3 separate regions of the Homo sapiens genome follow, and all the other regions are linked to region 2. The links are contacts of gene promoters, found by promoter capture Hi-C in human tissues and cell types (Jung and others, 2019). All regions are on one chromosome and are shown on one strand. The core of a region is centred on a gene start or on the middle of the fragment in contact, and the rest is flanking DNA. Distances in the headings are between cores, read along the strand shown.

The links. Contacts are between HindIII fragments. The study calls those that stand out against the background at their distance.
Region 1: a fragment that was not itself captured here is called in contact with the fragment with the promoter of SLC6A13 in region 2 in 5 of the 25 tissues and cell types used here (dorsolateral prefrontal cortex, hippocampus, liver and 2 more).
Region 3: a fragment that was not itself captured here is called in contact with the fragment with the promoter of SLC6A13 in region 2 in 3 of the 25 tissues and cell types used here (aorta, dorsolateral prefrontal cortex and mesendoderm cells).

The regions. Positions count from the first base shown.
Region 1 is chr12:54,555-59,047 of GRCh38, forward strand. No RefSeq gene overlaps it. Among named protein-coding and RNA genes, the nearest start is that of IQSEC3, 10 kb to the right of the region's middle. The HindIII fragment of the contact is 6,090 bases long and covers 1-4,493 here.
Region 2 is chr12:260,336-264,253 of GRCh38, forward strand. SLC6A13 (solute carrier family 6 member 13) reads right to left here and starts at 2,501. Exons shown (of 15, transcript NM_016615.5): 1 at 2,454-2,501. The HindIII fragment of the contact is 8,106 bases long and covers 1-3,918 here.
Region 3 is chr12:75,685-80,190 of GRCh38, forward strand. All of the region lies in intron 1 of IQSEC3 (IQ motif and Sec7 domain ArfGEF 3), which reads left to right. Among named protein-coding and RNA genes, the nearest start is that of IQSEC3, 11 kb to the left of the region's middle. The HindIII fragment of the contact is 4,163 bases long and covers 759-4,506 here.

The DNA.
Region 1 (4,493 bases), core at 999-3,498, 210 kb before region 2:
CTCACTCCCCAAACAATTTGTCTAGCACTTTCCTGTGCATGTAGAATGTACAGATGTAAGCTCAGGGGATACCAACACAGACCCAGTTCACAGATGAGGATAGGGAAGCTCAGAGAGAGAAAAAACTCACCCCAGTTCCCATGACCAGAGTGACAAACTCAGTCTTCTGGCTCCAGGAAAACTCTCACTGCTCCTACTAAACACTAAAACCTGCTGAGCATTTACTCTACGCAAGATACTGTGCTCCCACAACTCCATTATACCCATAGTACGGGGGAGGAAACTGAGGCTCAGAGAAGTTACATAACTTCCCCAAGACCCCAATGCTGGGAAGGGGCAGAATGAGAGTTCAGACCCGTGCCTGCCTTTTCCAGAATCCATATTCTTTTCCACGACCTTATTCCACTTTTAAATCCAGAGAAGCTCCAAGGAAATGGTGTCCTGGGAGAAGGGGTGAGGGCCTGGGTGCTCCAGATGGCTCAGTGCCTGGCAGGACTGGCTCCACCCATCAGGCGGGCATCGGGGGAGAGTAGGGTTTTCCTAGCTCAGAATGTGACTATAGCAGGTACCCAGAGATGCCCTCCCATCCCTAGGCTGTACACTGCATCCCCTCAATTGACTGTCGCTATGTGAGACACAAAAAATTTGTGCCTCGGGCTGCGTTTAAGAGAACCCCTGGCTGAGAAAACTCAGGGCAACCTGGTCTGGGTGGCATTTCTGGCTCTGCTGTGTACTAGCTTTGGACAAGTCACTTTATTTCTGTGCACCTCTGTTCCCTTTGCATACTTGACATCACGTCATCAAGCATCCATTTTCAGGATCATCGCTAACTCCCTGCCCCAGGTACTCTCTTCACATCAGACGTCCTAATGTGTGGTGCAGAGAAATAGGGGCGGGGCTTAGGGTAGGAGGCATGGGTTTCAGCCCTAGTTGTGCCTCCATGGCTGTGTCACTTCAAGCAACTCACCCACTCTATCTGCAAGCTCCACCTCCCGGGTTCACACCATTCTCCTGCCCCAGCCTCCCGAGTAGCTGGGACTACAGGTGCCCGTCACCATGACTGGCGAATTTCTTTGTATTTTTAGTAGAGACAGGGTTTCACCGTGTTAGCCAGGATGGTCTTGATCTCCTGACCTCATGATCCAGGCTGGGATTACAGGTATAAGCCACTGCGCCCAGCCAATACATACTTTTATATGATCTAGCAATTTCAATTCTATGTTTTTACTCTTAATAAAACACATGAAACATATTAAAATATATGTCCCCACAAAAACTTGTCCATTAATAATCACAGCAGCTTTATTCAAAATAACCAGAATCCGGAAACAACCAAAATGTCCATCAACAGTTGATGACATGAATTATGGTACATCTACTGTGAGTACAACTCTAAAATAAAAGGAACAAATGAATGATACCTATAACAGAATGGAGGAACCTCAAAAGTATTATGCTGAGCAAAAAAGAAAAACATGGCCAGGCATGGTGACTCACACCTGTAATCCCATCATTTTGGGAGGCTGAGGAAGGCAGATTGCTTGATCCCAGGAGTTTTAGACCAGCATGCACAACATGGGAAAACTTTGTCTCTACAAAAAATACAAAAATTAGCTGGATGTAGTGACATGCACCTGTAGTCCCAGCTACTAGGGAGGCTGAGGTGAGAGGATCACCTGAGCCTGTGAGGTTGAGGCTGCAGTGAGCTGTGATCATACCACTTCACTCCAGCCTGGGTGATGGAGTGAGACCCTGTCTCAAAAAACTAAAAAAGGGGACTCAGAAAAAAATGGCAAATAGGAGGCAGGTCTAACTTGCAGCTCCCACTCAGATGGAGACAGAACAGTGTGTGAAGACTCACATTATGAACTTTTGCTCCAAGAACTACCGCAAAACATACCAGGAAACCCAAAGGAATTCACAGACCCTTTGAAAGAAGCAGCTCGCCGCTGCAAACTTCATGAGACAGCCAAAAAACTGTGAGTGCCTAAAGTGTGAGAGGGGGAAGGTCTGCCTCCAAATACACATCCTTACTGGGGAAACTGAAAATCCAGATCACAGGAGAAGGATTTAACCTTACGTAGAGGTGAAATAAATTTAGAGAGCCGAGTGAAATATAAAAGTAGAAGCAGCGGTGAGAAGAGCTCTGTAAGTACTCCCAGCCCCCAGGGAAGCCCAGGGAAGCCATTTCTGACTTTCTCTCACAGGGGTCCTCAGGGAGGGCAGAGAGTGGGACTGGGGAAGGGTCACAAGGAGGAGACTTCCAGCAGAACTTTGTAATAATTTCGACTGAGCATGAATTTTCCTGGACAGCATTGTGGGGTAGGGCAAAAACGGGAAGTGCAGATATGAGCACAGAAGCCAAGGCAAGCAGAGAGGGGTGAGACCTGAAAGCCCTGCTTGCTTTCTCAGCAGAGAGGCTTGTAGCCTGGGGCAATATCTCAGCCTTGCAAACCTGAGGCCTGGATATAAATTCAGCTCTGTCGGGAGAGCATGACAGGAGCACTGGCCTTGCTGGCTACACGGGAGCTGGGTGAGACCTGTTGCTGCCGGCTTTCCCCCACTTCCCTGGGACTTGTATGAAGCATCAGAGGCAGCCATAATCCCTCTTGGAGCATAACTCCACTGACCTGAGAACAACCCCCCATCCCCCACAGTGGCCACAGCAAGCCCAGCCCTAGGAGAGTCTGAGCTCAGACATGCCTAACACTGCCCCAACCTAATGGTGTTTCTTTACCAGCCCTGGTAGCTGAAGACAAAAGACGAACTCATGGGAGCTCTATGGCCCTGCCCATCACCTGAGAAACCCAAATACTTACCCAGGTGACCTTAGAGCAAGCTTGTATCCACCCCTATACTACCACAGCTAATGCTCTCTTGAAAGCACCACCTCCTAGTGGGAGGCCAACCAACTCAAGCCATTACAGCAACTCATAACAGAACAGCACTGCTCCAAAAAAGGAGAAAACAACAGCCAATTCCACTGCCTGTAACATCTTGGGTCCCCAGAGGCCCTGAGTCTGTCCATGTAGCAACTTCATTGCTAGTATAACCAGCATTCGAGAAAAACAGCACACTAAACAAAACTACAACCAAGGACTCTGACAGAGTCCACTTCACTCCCCTGCTACCTCCAGCTGAGCGGGTGCTGGTATCCACAGCTGAGAGACCTGAAGATGAATCACATCACAGGACTCTTTGCAGACACTCCCCAGTAACAGCCCAGAGCCTGGTAGCCCCGCTGGGTGGCTAGACCGAGAAAAGCAATAACAATCGCTGCAGTCCAGCTTTCAGAAAGCCGCATCTCTAGAGGAAAGGGGAGAGCACCACATCAAAGGATCGCCAGTGGGACAAATCTGAACAGCAGCCCTTGCACCCCAAATCTTTCCTCTGACATAGTCTACCCAAATGAGAAAGAACCAGAAAAACAATTCTGGTAGTATAATAAAACAACGTTCTATAACACCCCAAAAGGTCACACTAGCTCACCAGCAAACATGGATCCAAACCAAGAAGAAATCTCTGAATTGTCAGAAAGAGAATTCAGAAGGTCAATTATTAAGCTACTCAAGGAGGTATCAGAGAAAGGTGAAAATCAACTTAAAGAAACTTAAAAAATAATACAGGATGTGGATGAAAAAAATCTCCAAATAAATAGATCTCATAATTAAAAAGCAATCACAACTTCTGGAAACTAATGACGCACTTAGAGAAATGCAAAACACACTGGAAAGTTTCAACAATAGAATCAAACAGGTAGAAGAAAGAACTTCAGAGCTCAAAGACAAGGCTTTTGAATTAATCCAACCTGACAAAGACAAAGAAAAGAGCATTTTAAAAATGAACAAAGCCTCCAGGAAGTTTGATATTATGTTAAATGACCAAACATAAGAGTAATTGGTATTCCTGAAGAAGAAGAGAAATCTGAAAGTTTGAAAAACTTATTTGAGGGAATAATTGAAGAAAACTTCCCTGGCCTTGCTAGAGATCTAGACGTCTAAATACAAGAAGCTCGAAGAACACCTGGGAAGTTCATCACCAAAAGATCATCACTTAGCCACATAGTCATCAGGTTATCTAAAGTTGAAAAGAAAAAAGGGATCTTAAGAGATGTGAGGCAAAAGTATCAGGTAACCAATAAAGGAAAGCCTGTTAAATTAACAGCAGACTTCCTAGCAGAAACTCTGCAAGCCAGGAGGGACGGAGATCCTATCTTTAGCCTCCTTAAACAAAATAATTATCCAGCAAGAATTTTGTATCCAGTGAAACTAAGCATCATAAATGAAGGAAAGATAAAGTCTTTTTCAGACAAATACTGAGAGAATTCACTACCAACAAGCCAGCACTACAAGAACTGCTAAAAGTAGTTATAAATCTTGAAACAAAACCTTGAAATACACAAAAATAGAACCTCCTTAAAGCATAAATCTCATGGGGACCATACAATAACACAATGAAAAAACAAGGTATTCAGGCAACAACCAGCACAATGA
Region 2 (3,918 bases), core at 1,251-3,750:
AGACATGGAGGAGTTCATGGGCCGCTGTGCTGTCTAAATTCTCCCTGCCACCCTACAGTCAGCCTCGTCGGGATTAGCATGTGCTTCAGTCTGTTTACTCTGTATGCTGGGACACGTTGAAAGGATGGGATTTTACATGTCCTCAAAGCCACCAATTTCCCTTGCAGGAATTTATGCTAAGGAAATAATTGTGATTGTGAGTGAAAGGTGTAGCATTAGGATATTTATTGTTCATAACAGCGAAAAATCGGAAAGTACATAAATTGTCAAAAATGGTAGATATGTTGATAAATTATGGCACATTCATATAATGGACTACTATATATAATCATTAAAACCTGTGTTATAGAAACAAGTATATCGGCACAAAAGGGTGCTCACAATATATAGTAAAAAACAGTACATACAATATGATCATGCTTGACAAATATTTTATAAAGTATTTATAGGCATTGAAGGAGTAGGATAGCCATGAAAATGTTTTTCTTTCAGCAGTTGGGTTATAGGAACATTTCCTTATCTATATTTTCTACAATTACATCAAAAATGTGTTTTACTTTTGTAATATAAAAATAAAAGCCGGTTTTAAAAAAAAATCCTGTCAAAGGATTGGGAGAGGTTGAGTGGGACCAGGAATTGTGAGTAAGATGAGGTGGTCTAAGTACTCCTTCTATGTCTCTCTGAAATCAGCGTAAGGCAGAGATTTACTATGCGCTCTTTTTCTTTTTTGGTGATGACAAATTAGGAGTCTGTGACAGTAGAGAAGATGATATAAATAAAAAGCCACAGTTTTAACCATTCACTGTCAGAAATGGCCCATTCCAGACCACTGTTGGGATTGAGGATGACTGGACGTGGCCCACATTTAGTTAGCAACTACTATAGACTAGGCACTTCACATACATTCTTTTCATTTAATTCTCACAACAACCCTGAGATGTAAGCATTATTACCTCCACTTTATAAATAAGGAAGTTGCAGCTCAGAGAGGTTAAATAATGTGACTGCTGCTGCCATATAGCTACTAACTTGCACAGCCAGGACTTAAACCCACTCTGCCCCTGCTCTTTCAGTTCCATCCCTTTGATTACATTGGCTGCCTAGGTTCACTGGTGTGTCTACTAAAAGCATCTTCTAATGACTCTGCCTTGATTTTGCAGAGTGGCCTCTTTTCTGGAGAAGGAGGCAGATGGACTTTTTTCTAAGCCTCAAGCAAAGTTCATGTTAACAGAACTTTCTCAGCAGTAACCTCTTCTGGCCACAGACTCTACTTTGGCTCTGACCCAGAAAATTAGAAAGTCAGTGAACAGGCCGGGTGCAATGGCTCACGCCTGTAATCCCAGCACTTGGGAGGCCGAGGCGGGTGGATCTCCTGAGGTCAGGAGTTTGAGACCAGCCTGGCCAACATGGTGACACCCCGTCTCTACGAAAAGTACAAAAATTAGCTGGGCATGGTGGCAGGCACCTGTAATCCCAGCTACTCAGGAGGCTGAGGCAGGAGAATCGCTTGAAACCAGGAGGCAGAGGTTGCAGTGAGCCGAGATCGCGCCACTGCACTCCAGTCTGGGCAACAAAGCGAGACTCTGTCTCAAAAAAAAGAAAAAAAAAAAAAGTCAGGGAACAGCAGGCATCTATGTTTATCTGATAAATTAGGGAATGAGCTCCTTTCTACAAAGGAGAAACTCAAGTAACTGGTCCCAAGAGGGCTCCTCAGTCCTTTTGGGAAGGTTGTCTAAGGTACTGACTGTGCTGGCCTCCCCTCCCTTTACCAGCTGATGGATCTCTCCCAGTGATGGAAAGCCTTCCCTTCTCCACCCTCCCAGACCCTAGGAGAAACAGTAGCCTTCTCCTGGCTCCCTTAGCCTCATTAGAGCTGCTTCTCAGAGGTAGCATGTTGTGTCTGAAAGGTCATGAGCTGTAGAGTCAGATGAGGCCAGGTTCAAACATTAGTTTTTTCTCATACCAATGTCTGACTTCAGAGAAGTTAATGAATGACTCTGAGCCTTAGTTTGTTCATCTGTAAAAGTGGGGATGATAGATAGGATATACTTAGCTATAAGAATTAAATGAGGAAATATACATATGTATACACACTTAATAGAATAACAGGTACTCAAATTTTTGTTTTCTTTCAGTCCTGTCAGAGTTGATCATTGTTCTCTTTTCTCAGAGAAGAAAGACTTTGTTTTCTTGGAGTTAAATCCAGTTGTCTTTCCTCTCAATCTAGGGCTCTCTCTTTCCAAATCACAGTGTCACTTAAGTCAACAGCCACCCAAGTTTCAGAAAGTCAAGAAAATAGCACATAATCTTTGCATTTGCACACATACATGTCAGAAGCGTACTTTCTAGGCGAGGGTAAGAAAAAAGTCCTTTGGTTGTAAGTCCCATGGATCCCACCAACCTGCAGTCTGAGACGCAGAAATAGAAAAAAAAGAGAAGAAAACATTTCGAACCTTAGTGAAGCTGCTGCCAGAGGTCCAGTCAGGGGAGAAGAATTATCTAAGGGGGAAGGAGAAGGTGCTGGCTATTTAAAGTGTGGTTCCAGAACGCCTCTGTGGCACTTGAAATTCTAAACTTGGCCCAGCCCACATTCCACCCTTGTGCCTCCCCCTCCCCTTTTCTCCCCTCCCCTCCCCTCGGCCACTGGACAACCCACACATGAGTGATTTCGCAGTCTGGGGAGTGTGCACGCCCTGGCAGGTCGGGCCAGTTGCTGGTGAGCTTATGAAGTGTGGTCTCCTCCCCGGAGCTCATGTGCGCTTCCCACCTGGTGAGCTCAGGGTCTCTCTGGAGGGATCCTGCCTCCCACCCCTGTCTCCAACACAAGTGCTCCTATAAATCCATCAAGAATAGGTATTCCTTTGGTCAGGTGCTGTGTAGATTAATTTAAAAATACATTTATCTTACCGTTTCGCAGCTTGCAATGTGGAATGGACGATGATTTAGAACAAAGATACATAGATACAGAACTCTGAGATGTCAGAAAAACTTCCCAAACATACACAGACATTTATACACATATAGAAAAAGTCTGAAAAAATCTTCGCTAAATGATTAATAGTAGTTACATTTGTAGAGTGGAACTGAGATCAGGAGATGGCAGTAAGGGAGATTTTTTCCCCACTTTTTCAATATTGTTTAGATTTTTTAATATGCTAGAATTTTAAAATATTTTTTAAATCAATAGAGAAAAGGAAGTGCCAACGTTTAAAATAAAGCAAAGCCCTAAAGCTGTTATAAGGGAAGGAGCAGGCGGTGAGCGCGAGGCCGAGGTCATCCAGGGAGCTTCGTTTCTCTGCAGGAACAGCCCACAGAGGCGGCTGTGAGAGTAGTTCATTCAGCCTGGAGTCTAGGACAGGGCAGAGTCCCACCTCAGCCATGTGCTGAAGCACAGTACATGTAGTGGAAACCTGCTCAGACTTTGACACCAGAGAGTGTGGGGTCTGAGTCCTACGTATGCCACTGTCTAGCTTGAGATTTCAGGAGATGATGACTAACTGTAAATGGCAGCTGTTATTCATCCTTAAGGGATTATTCACAGTGAGCAGTGAGCCCGGAAGTCTTCTTGAAGGAGACGGGACTGAGAGACCCCTGAGCTAAGCTGGGCTCTGGCCAGACTGTGAGAATGAGTTAGGTAGGGGATGCGGCAATGAGTGAGTGAGGTGATAGAGACATCTTGAGATGACGGAGAAGTGTGGAAAGAAAGACGGATCGAAGAGTCTAAGGTAGTTTCCGTTTCCTTGATCCCTCATCTAACTCAAGGGCATGGGGTAGGGGCATGGAAACACTGCATGGTAATACCTGGAGAGCTTCCCAGAAGCTTCTTGGAAATTATTATTCTTATGTTTCAGCGGCCCCTGTTCCTCTCCCCTTTCAAGCTTTCATCTGTTAGACTGAGCTCTGTAAAGCAATAAACCA
Region 3 (4,506 bases), core at 1,590-4,089, 180 kb before region 2:
CTCAACACCTAGAAGGTGCATGATAAATACTGGTTGAATACATAAACTCTCCGTCTGTAGGGCCCAGGCAGGCTCATGGATTGTTGAGTGGAGGTGGGTTGTGGTATCAGGGCTGAGGAAGAGTTGGGCAGAAGGGAGGACCCCTGGGTCCAACAGCACAGCTCACTGTCCTGAAGCTGAGCCCATGCGGAAAGCTGCTCTCAGAGGTTCAGTTCTTCAGGCTGGTTGGGGTGTGAGACGGATGAGGGGTGAGGAGAAGACTGCCCCCGGCAATAAACAGAACCGACCCCAATCCTAGCTATGAGCAGGGAGAGCCCTCTACTCCCTCTGCCCCCAGCCTCTGACCACTCTGTCAGCCCAGGAAGCTGCATTAAGAACAAATCTCTGCAGTGAGAGTTTCATCACACACACACACACACACACACACACACACACACACACACACACAAGGCCTCAGCAGGTGGAGTGAGAAACGGGCAATGGGCCTATGAAGGCAGGAGGGAAAGGAGGCTGGCATTGTGGCCGTATCTCTGGGGGAAAAGAGAGGAAAGAGCTGGATTCCGGGGTCATGAACCAGCAGCACCCAGATTCCAGGCCCCTTACCAGGCAGGATCAGCTGTGTTCAGGGAAGTGTCAATACCGTGACGGGACGGTGAGCAGGTGGTGCGCAGGCGTTTGTGGACCTGAGTGGGCACGACTGCGTGGGCAACTGTGTGTTACTGACTTGGGCTGGGGGAGTTGGAGGACAACCCACACTATACTAAAGATGCATAGGCTTCACAGCAAAGATCAGCATAGCTTTATCTCAGTATCTCCCAATGACCCCTGGCCTGGTCACGCCATCAGCACTCCCAGTTCCTTTTCCTTTCTCTGCATGAAGTGTTTCATCTCCATTGGCTAGCCAGATCCTCCTGGTTCTTCCCCTCTGTAAAATGGGGCAAATCTACCACGCCTCCATACCCACTCTGTCTGGAGCATGCGGGAGACCAGGCCCCAGAGGCGTGAGCTCCTGGGAAGAAGGCTGTGTGGAAGGGGACAGGTACAGGAGCTGTGCCACTGAACTCTACGGAGGTATAGTGTCTGGAAGCTCAGGTACGGGGCGGCCAGACACACACAAAGCTGTAGTGTGATTTTCCCTGCAGGATATCTCGGCCTAGCTGTGGCCAGGGCCTGGTACCAATGACCTCTCAGGGCTTTGGATGCACCAGGTCAAACCAGCCAACCACCTGCCTCCAATCAGGAATGCACGCCCCATCCCAGGCAGAGAGACAAGGGAGTTCCACAATTTCTTCCTTGATGAATGATTCCTATCTACCACAATTTTCATTCAATGCATCAAATCAACCAATGATTATTTAAAAACAGCAGCTACAAAAACTCTGCAAAGCGGGTGGGAATTTCCTGCTTGGGTCTAGCCTCCGTGTTTCCCGCGCACAGCCCGGTCTTTACCCTGGATGCTTCCGAACCGGCATCATCTGGCATCTCCGACAGTCTTGATGCGACTTAACGCATGGTAAGAACCCATCAGAGAAGGCCAAAGGGATTTCCAGAGACAGGTAGAGGCACTGCGCTGGGCAGCACCAGGGAGGAATATTATCTTTTCAAGCAGCTGGACTCTGACCTAGAAGCCGGAACTCCTGAGTACTGAGGTCAGCACCTCTCTCACACACCCCCAGCTATAAGCTTGAAGGAAGCCCCTCCCCTTCTCTGGGCCTTGATTTCCCCTCCTGCTCAGTGGGGACGTTCTTGGTCCTCCTTCTTGCCCACTCTACCCAGTCGCCGAGTCTGGCGAAGCAGAGCTGTCTGGGGGTCACCGCAGCAGGAGGGACCGAGCTTAGATACGAAAAAAGACTTCTACACGGCAAGAGCCACAGAAAGGACGCTCCAGCTGGCTCAGCAGAGGGGCATCTCTCCCTTTCAAGAACAAAAGGTGGCAGGTACCCGGGGGCCCTGGGGCAGAACGAGGTAAATTCTGCACGGACTTCCACATCTAAGACCCCAGAAATCTCCAGCCGGCTCCCTCCGACCGTGAGTGCGTAAAACCCGGGAGCAGCAGGAGGGGAGGGCGGGGGTGCAGCTGGCCCCCCTGGGGTGTCCCCTCAGTCCCTGCGCCCCCGACCCTCGCCGGGCCAGCCTGGGGAAAGCCTTTCCGCCTCCGTGCGCTGCCCCGACTCCTACGTGGGGAGGGAACGTGGAGTCGGGATCTCGGCGGCGTGGGCGGGCCGGCTGGCAGCCGGCAGGCGAGAAGGAATCTCCCGGCCCACGCGCCCCCTCCCAGCGTCCAGCCTCGCACTTCCTCGCGGGGGCGGCGGCGAGGACCTGCACCCCGGCGCGGGGAAGCCGCGTGCCCACAGCCTCCGCGCGCCCCCGCCGCCCCGCTGAGGAAGGCGGCTGCTGAGTCACCCGCGAAGGGAAGCGCGGCCCGGGCGCCCCCGCCTCCCCGCGCCCCAACCCCCGCGCACAGCCGCCCGCCCACGGTGTCTGGGGCCTCCCGGCGCAGGGCGCCGCCTCCTCCCGCGTTCCCGGCCCGAGGGGGCTCGGAAGGGGCTTCGGCGCTGCGGCACCGCCCGCCGCCAGCCCGGGGAGCATCGGGGCCGCGGCCTTCGGGCCGGGTGCTGGGTGCTGGGTGCGCGCCCCTCCTCGGCCTCCACGGGCCGCAGCCGGGGCTAGTGTGATGGTGCGAGTAGATTGCCTTGGAGAAGAAGGGGACATTGAGGCGGGGGCGGCTAGGAGGGGTCGGGGATGAGGACGGTGACACCGAGGTACAAATTCTACTCAGCATCCACCTTTCCTGTCTTCCTTGTACCCAAGACACCTCAGCAAAAAAAAAAAATAAATTTAAAACTCCCAGCCTTATCTTGGCCTTCTCATGTTTATGTTTGTGTTTTATCGCATCACAGTCTTAGAATTCCCAGGGCTGTAGGTCTCCTCAGCCTACGGTGCGGCATAATAGTTCTGAGCAGGGCCCTGGGTTTGAATCTCGACTCAGTCGTTCACTAGCTGTGTGATCTCAAGCAATGAGAGCCTCGCGTTTCCCGTTCGTAAAATAAGGAATACGAATGGTACCACCCTCCTGGGATTGCTGGGAAAATTCAGGGGTGATGCCAGTAAAGCGTCAGGCAAGCCGAGTGCCTGGCACGCAGTGAGGGCTCGACGCGGGGTGGTTGCTGTCACTTTGGGACCCTTCCAGTGGCAGAAGGTGCTCTTTGAAGGTGAGAGGCCTCACCACCCCCCACCCTGACCCCGGCATCTTCTAAGGGGCTCTGAACAGGACTCCTTCCCTGTTTGACTTCACACCCTTTCAAATATTTGAAGGCAGATAGCCATCCTTCCCTTCCCTTGCCTTCCAGTCCACTGACACCCCTCCGCCATCTACTTTCAGGAGAACATACCTGATCCTGGCACTTCCTGCTCCTCATGGTTCTGCGGGTGGCCCTGCCTCACCTGGGTTACTGCTCTCCGAGAACACAGAGGGAGCTGGGAGTGAGCCCTGCAGCGCAGGGGCTGTGGCCAGACCAGCTTTGGGCACAGGGAGGCCCTCCCTCACCCCCCGCCTAGCTTTGGATGGTGGCTAGGGACCCACTGGCTTTCTCAGCCCCAGCCACAGATGGGACCTATCACACATGAGGTCAGCTAAAGCCTCAGGGCTCTTTCACTTGAAGGACTCTGGCTTCTGGCCACCTGTACTTGTACAGGTGGCTTTTAACATACACACAAAATTGCTAATGTAATTTGCTTTTAATGTAATTCACCTTTTCCTTTCTTTAAGAGATGGTGACTCTGTCACCCAGGCTGGAGTACAGTGGCACAATCATTGCTCTCTGCAGCCTCGAACTCCTGCGCTCAAGTGATCCTCCCACCTCAGCCTCCCAGGTAGCTAGGACTACAGGCATGCATCACGACACCTGACTAATTTTCTTTGTTTTTGTAGAGACGGAGGCCTCCCTATGTTGCCCAGGCTGGTCTCGAACTCCTGGCCTCAAGCAATCTTCCCAATTCAGCCTCCAGAGTAGCTTGATTTACTCTTTTCAAATAGACAATACATTGACCTAGTACAAGATTCAAAAGAAAAGAGTTTACAGTGAAAAGCATCGCCCCCATCCTTGTTTCCTAACCACTCGAATTCCTGCCCGCCCCCACACCTTCCAGCAACCACTATTATTTCTCACGTCTTTCCAGCTATATGTACATTTAAGCAAAATGTTTATTTCTTTTTACAGAGATACTAGTATCCTATATGCTGTTCTGCACCTTGAGTTTTGTTCCCTAATAATGTATCTTAGTGATCTTTCCTTATTAAATATAAAAAGAGCTGCCGCGTTCTTTTTTAATAGCCGCAAAATATTCCACTGTATGGCTGTGAAGCTAGGTCCTTTCTGCTGTCTGCTGAGAGTTTTGGAAGGCAAGTAATTATTTAAGGTGGGCTTTCTGAGGGCCAGAGAGGGGAGGAAGCAGGTATGATTGAGCAGCTGCATTTGAACTTGCCTCTCTGGCTGACGTGCTGCT